Linked DNA regions of Homo sapiens: region 1 is linked to region 2. The links are contacts of gene promoters, found by promoter capture Hi-C in human tissues and cell types (Jung and others, 2019). All regions are on one chromosome and are shown on one strand. The core of a region is centred on a gene start or on the middle of the fragment in contact, and the rest is flanking DNA. Distances in the headings are between cores, read along the strand shown.

Region 1 (2,700 bases), core at 120-2,619, 67 kb after region 2:
AATTTTTCTTAAGGACTACTTTTCTTTTTTTTTTGAGACAGGGTCTTACCAGGTCATCTAGTTGGAGCACAGTGGTGCAGTCATGGCTCACTGCAGCCTTTAACTCCCAGGCCCAAGCAGTCCTCCCACCTCAGCCCTCTCAAGTAGCTAGGACCAGAGGCATGCATCACCACACCTGGCTAATTTTTGTATTTTTGTAGAGACGGGGTCTCCCTATGTTGCTCAGGCTGGTCCCGAACTTCTGGGCTCAAGCGATCCTCTCACCTAGGTGTCCTAAAGTACTGGGATTACAAACGTGAGCCACTGTGTCTGGCTTTAAGTTCTGTTTTTATTACATCACTTGGCTTTTTCATACCATTCCACAGCTTCTTATGGCCTAAAGGACCAAATGCATATTCTTGATTTTGACATTCAAGCCCTCCATTACTAGTGTCAAGTAACATGTGTGACCTTCATTTTTATGGCCCCCACATACCAGCTAAGAAAGACTTATTGGGTTTTCCTACTTATTACATCTAATTTCTGTTTCTTTGTCATTGCTTGTTTTACTAATTTCCTTCTTCAAAAATTTTTAAAGTCATCTTCCCCAGTACATTTTTAAAAATAGTATTTGGCTCCTAGCATTCATACCTGTACCAGCTGCCCTAACTTGCGTATCTTCTTATGGTTCTTTGGGCACTGTTGTGTACTTGAAACAGTCCTGGATTTTTAGTAAGAAAACTTATAAGAGATCTTGGATCAGCTACTTTATACTTTTGTGACTTTGGTAAGTCATTGAATGCAGGAGCATTTCAATGACATTTTAGAAGAATAAGCTGCTTTGCAAAGGCTTTAGGCTAGAGTAGGGGTGAGAAAGTGAAGGCCACGAGGAAAAGGAGATACTGTTGTGCCAAAGGGCGTCTATGTGAAGGGATGTTTTGGGATTTGTTTTAAGGCTGGAAGAGATTTTAAAGATCTGCTTCATATCTTCTAGCACCTTTTCTGATTTTCAGCTTTTCTTCTGTAAGAATGAGACAAATATTTTTTAAAAATTCTAATAAGTTTATCTAACTGCTAAACATGTATTTTTTGGAGTAGTGTGAGAAGAGATGGTGCTTTTCAGCCCCTTTGCCTGCTATTCTGGGCTTAGCAAGGTTCGTTTGCTTATGTATTTATTTGTTACTTAAGAATTTGCGATGGACTGAATTGTGTCCCTTCAAAATTCATATGTTGAAGCTCTAACCCCCAGTGAGAATGTAGCTGAAGATAGGGTTTTTAGGAGGCAATTAAGGTTAAATGAGGTCATACTGGTAGAGCCCTAATCCAATGACTGTTGTCCTAGAAGAAGAGCAGAGAGATCTCTCTGTCACACACCACACCCCCACGTTGTCCTGTGTGAGGCCACAGCAAGAAGGTAGAAGCCTGAAAGCCAAGAGAGCCCTCACCAGAAACCAAACCCGATCAGACCTTATTTTGGACTTCCAGCCTCCAGAACTGTGAGAAAATAAATATCTGTTGTTTAAGCCTCCCAGTCTGTGGTATTTTGTTATGGCAGTCTGAGCAGACTAAGGCAGTACTTAATATGTACTTAGTTCTTTGGTAATTTTTATTCTAATTATCAGCTTAGAAGGCTTTTCAGTGTATTTGTGGAGGGTAGTGTTTCTAATATTAGTGTATTTTCAGATATCGTTCTCTGATCATTTTAGCTTTATTTTCTTGGTTGGGTGTTAATACATTTTTGAACAATAATTTTTAAATATCATTTTGTATTATTTTTTGATGAGATTTGATTTTTGGCAATCTTGTTGCCTTACTAGCTAAGACCCTTTTAATATATATGATGTACTCATTTTATAATTAAAAAAATAGCTTAACTTTCCAAGCTTGATTTTGCTTTGGTTTTGATGTCTTCGATTTACTGAAGGCTCCAGACGTGGAACCTTAACATCCTCAGAGAGCAACTTCTATGTTGCTTTATAGTGAGTGACACTGCAGTTCAAATAAATGTGGATTGGGGCTTCTCACCTGGCTCTAGTGGCTAAGGATTTCATTTCTTTTTGATACCCACATGTAAATAAGCTCAGCAAACTGAAATTCAAAAAACATTTATTTGCTGCATCTTTGTTTAATTATCTTTTTTTCAGTGATGGTTCTGTTCTGGATAAATGGTACTAAACCTGTATAGCATCATTTAAAATTACTTTGGAAAGTTTCAACAGTTCTTGTATGAAGAAATAGACTTTAAATAAATCAATCTCATAATTATCATTCAGGGTATTATTTAGGATTATTGTTTAGCCTTTTACATTACTGATTTTCCTTAAAGGGCTATCTGATGTACTCTTTTCAGCTACATCTGTTTGCCATACCACAGCTTGTAATTGCTTTACATTTGAAGAATATAGTGAGTGACTTTATTATTAATCAGTAGCAAATTTGTCTTAGTATTCTTAACCTTAGGATGGCCTTAACTTATGAATAAATGATTTAGATGGTAATACTCTCACTTAAGTTAGAGACTTATGCAGTAACATTAAAAAAAATTGTACTCAAGATTTTGCATTTCAAAACTAATTTTTCAGAAGTAGTGAATATAATTATGCTCATGAAATAATTAGAAGTCAACAGAATATCTGAATTGTATCTTCCTATGGAAGATGGTAAGGATTATCATCTTCCCCCAGTTTTATTATCTTTTCTTAATACAGAATCCCAGGCTAT
Region 2 (2,700 bases), core at 195-2,694:
AGAGATGAGAGCAGATCTTACAGGGACTTGTGGGTCATGGTACAGACATTTGGATTTTATTATAATTGTGATGGGAAGGCACTGAAGCATGCTTTTCAGCCTTCTTAAAAGACCTTTCTCCTCCTTAGTTTTCTGGCTAACTCCTATATGTCTTTCAAAATCTAGCATCATCTCCTCTGTGACATGTTCTTTAACTTCCCTGGTAAGATCAGTCCCCTCCTCTGTGACATCTCTGAGTAACAGATTACTGACCTCTTTTCACACTCCTAGTGACCTCATTTGTTTATTTTTTTCACAGAACTGTGTCTTTTTCATATTTTTAACCTCACGTCTAACATAGTGGTGAGTACTAAAGAAACGTTTGATAGGCCAGGCGCGGTGGCTCACGCCTGTAATTCCAGCACTTTGGGAGGTCGAGGCGGGTGGATCACCTGAGGTCAGGAGTTCGAGACCAGCCTGGCCAACATGGTGGAACCCTGTCTCTACTAAAAATACAAAAAAATAGCTGGGCGAGGCAGGAGAATTGCTTGAACCCAGGAGGCGCAGGTTGCAGTGAGCCGAGATCGCGCCATTGCACTCCAGCCTGGGCAACAAGAGCAAAACTCTGTCTCAAAATACAAACAAGCAAGCAAACAAAGAAATGTTCGATAAAAGAAAAACTCTGAGTCATTCAGTGGTGCAAGGTTGGATTCCTTTCAGACCCGACGTAGTTGTCGCCCTGGGAGGTCGGGTGCATTACTTCCCCCAGAGAAAGGTCTTGGGTTTCGGGGATAATGCCCTGGCTGAGAATGCCTCCTAGGGGGAGATCCAACTTCCCAACCGTCAGGTGCTTGCTGTGTTCCCTTTGCACGTCTCTGCCCGTCCTTCCTGGGTGGGACCTTGGTTGGCGGTGAGTGGGGGAAACTTCAGGCTTCCCAGCTCTGCCTCCGAACACTCCTGGCAAACACTTTCAAGGCCTAATCACAAACCCAGGTCCCCCACTTTCCTCTGTAACAACGGAAGTCCCAGCAGCGATGTCCACTCCTGTTCTGGGGCCAGCGTCGCACCGCTCACCCCGCACCTCATCCCTCCGCTCCTCCTTCCTTCTCCTCCACACCCTCTCGGCACCGTGCCCCCTTTCCTCACCTAGGATGCGCGTGATGCCCAGGGTCAGCTTCTCCAGGTGCGGCTTGCTGCAGCCCAGCCCCGGGGACGATGCCTCCTCCTCCATGGCTCGCGACCGCGATTCGCGCGCGGCGGGAGCGGGTGGAGGGCCGGACCCCGCCTCAGCGCCGAGGCCAATTTCATGGCATGCCGGGAACGGTAGTTCTCGGCGCCTGAAAGCGCGGCGCAGTGATGATGGGGGCCCGGGGTTGGTCTGACAGCAGCAGCTCCGTGGGGCGCCGGTTCCCGCGGCCCCGCCCGGTGCCCCACACCGCACCTCCGGGACGTAGCTTCCCCTTCGCCCCCACCCTCTCGCCCCGCAGGGGCCGGCCGCGCAGGCGGGGGCGGGCCTCTGCGTGGTGCGGCCAATGGGGACCGAGCCTGCAGGCCGAGGCGTGGCGGCCCAGGCGCGACGCCCCGAGTGGCGGTTGTTTCAAGATGGCGGACGTGGCGGGCCCCTCCCGCCCCAGTGCCGCGGCGTTCTGGAGCCGGGACTGTATCCTTTGCCCGCCTGACAGGGGGCGCCGGCGCCCTCCACGGGACGGCGAGGGGCGAGCCGTCGCGTGGCAGTCCGAGAGCGGAGGAGAAGCTCCGAACTAACCCCGGGGATGGGGACGTGCTGCTCGGCCCCAGTCTAGGTGCTGGGCTCTCCCCTTGCTTGGGTGTTAGGTGGCCGAGAGACTGGTACTGTCTGCAGGTGTGGGGACACGGCTCAGATGCTTCCCAGCGCTCACTACCGGTGAGCTCGAGAAAGATAGCCTTGAGTCCAGGCTCAGTCCAGGGCTGAGATGGCCCTCCGAGGTCCCTCTGCCCACCCTGTCAGAGTGCCCCCAGGCTGACTTGAGTGTGCGGAGCTAGCTCGAAGTTGAGGGAGGAGTCGGTGTTGGCTGGACAGGGAGCCTTTTTGTTTTGATTTAGGATTGTCTTTAGTCTGCATTGCTAGGAGCAAGTCAGGACCTTTCGGACTTAAAAGGCCCTCCAGTGATGATGTATTTTAATACTGGGGTTTTAGGAGAGGTGTGGAGCTTGGTTACTGGGATGTGGTCTGGTGGTGCTGGTTACTGCGTAAGATGGGAATCATTGTGCCTGGAAGTATTGTTGACTTACTTGTGGAGTGCGGGTCACTGGCAGTCATTGAAGTTCTTGGATCGTTGTGAGGTGGAGAAGCAGTGGAACTTTTTAGTCCAGTGGTAGTATTACCAGTTCAGCAGCAGTGATGAGATGTTTGTGTGACAGGAGTGTTTCTTTCCTTGGAGTAGGTAGACTCTTCTCGCTTGAGCTTTGGTCCTGATAATTTACTTCACGTTCCTTAGAGGGGTTACTTGAAAGAGGGACGGCAATCTGTGTTACTGAGTGCTTGCAGAGGCAGCTCTTTTTGTGTTTGCTAGGATTGGTGATGGCATTAATTGAGGCGTTGCTGTTACCTTTGGCAGAATCACTGGGCATTCTTCTTAGCTCCCAGTGAAACTTACAAAACTGTGTTATCAACTCCTTTGTTGAGTTACTAGGATTAGTGTCATGTGTAGAGAGAGGGATATGTTTGTATTCTGTGCTGCT

What was found. The method cuts DNA at HindIII sites, captures the fragments that hold promoters and counts their contacts. A contact is called where the count stands out against the background at its distance.
Region 1: a contact is called between a fragment that was not itself captured here and the fragment with the promoter of TPGS2 in region 2, in 2 of the 25 tissues and cell types used here (IMR-90 fibroblasts and lymphoblastoid cells).

Annotation. Positions count from the first base shown.
Region 1 is chr18:36,894,510-36,897,209 of GRCh38, forward strand. All of the region lies in intron 5 of KIAA1328, which reads left to right. Among named protein-coding and RNA genes, the nearest start is that of KIAA1328, 67 kb to the left of the region's middle. The HindIII fragment of the contact is 3,326 bases long and covers 1-2,700 here.
Region 2 is chr18:36,827,558-36,830,257 of GRCh38, forward strand. TPGS2 (tubulin polyglutamylase complex subunit 2) reads right to left here and starts at 1,445. Exons shown (of 7, transcript NM_015476.4): 1 at 1,126-1,445. The coding sequence starts at 1,210. KIAA1328 reads left to right here and starts at 1,570. Exons shown (of 10, transcript NM_020776.3): 1 at 1,570-1,639. The coding sequence starts at 1,582. RefSeq lists enhancers at 805-914, 1,015-1,807 and a silencer at 1,205-1,804. The HindIII fragment of the contact is 11,405 bases long and covers 1-2,700 here.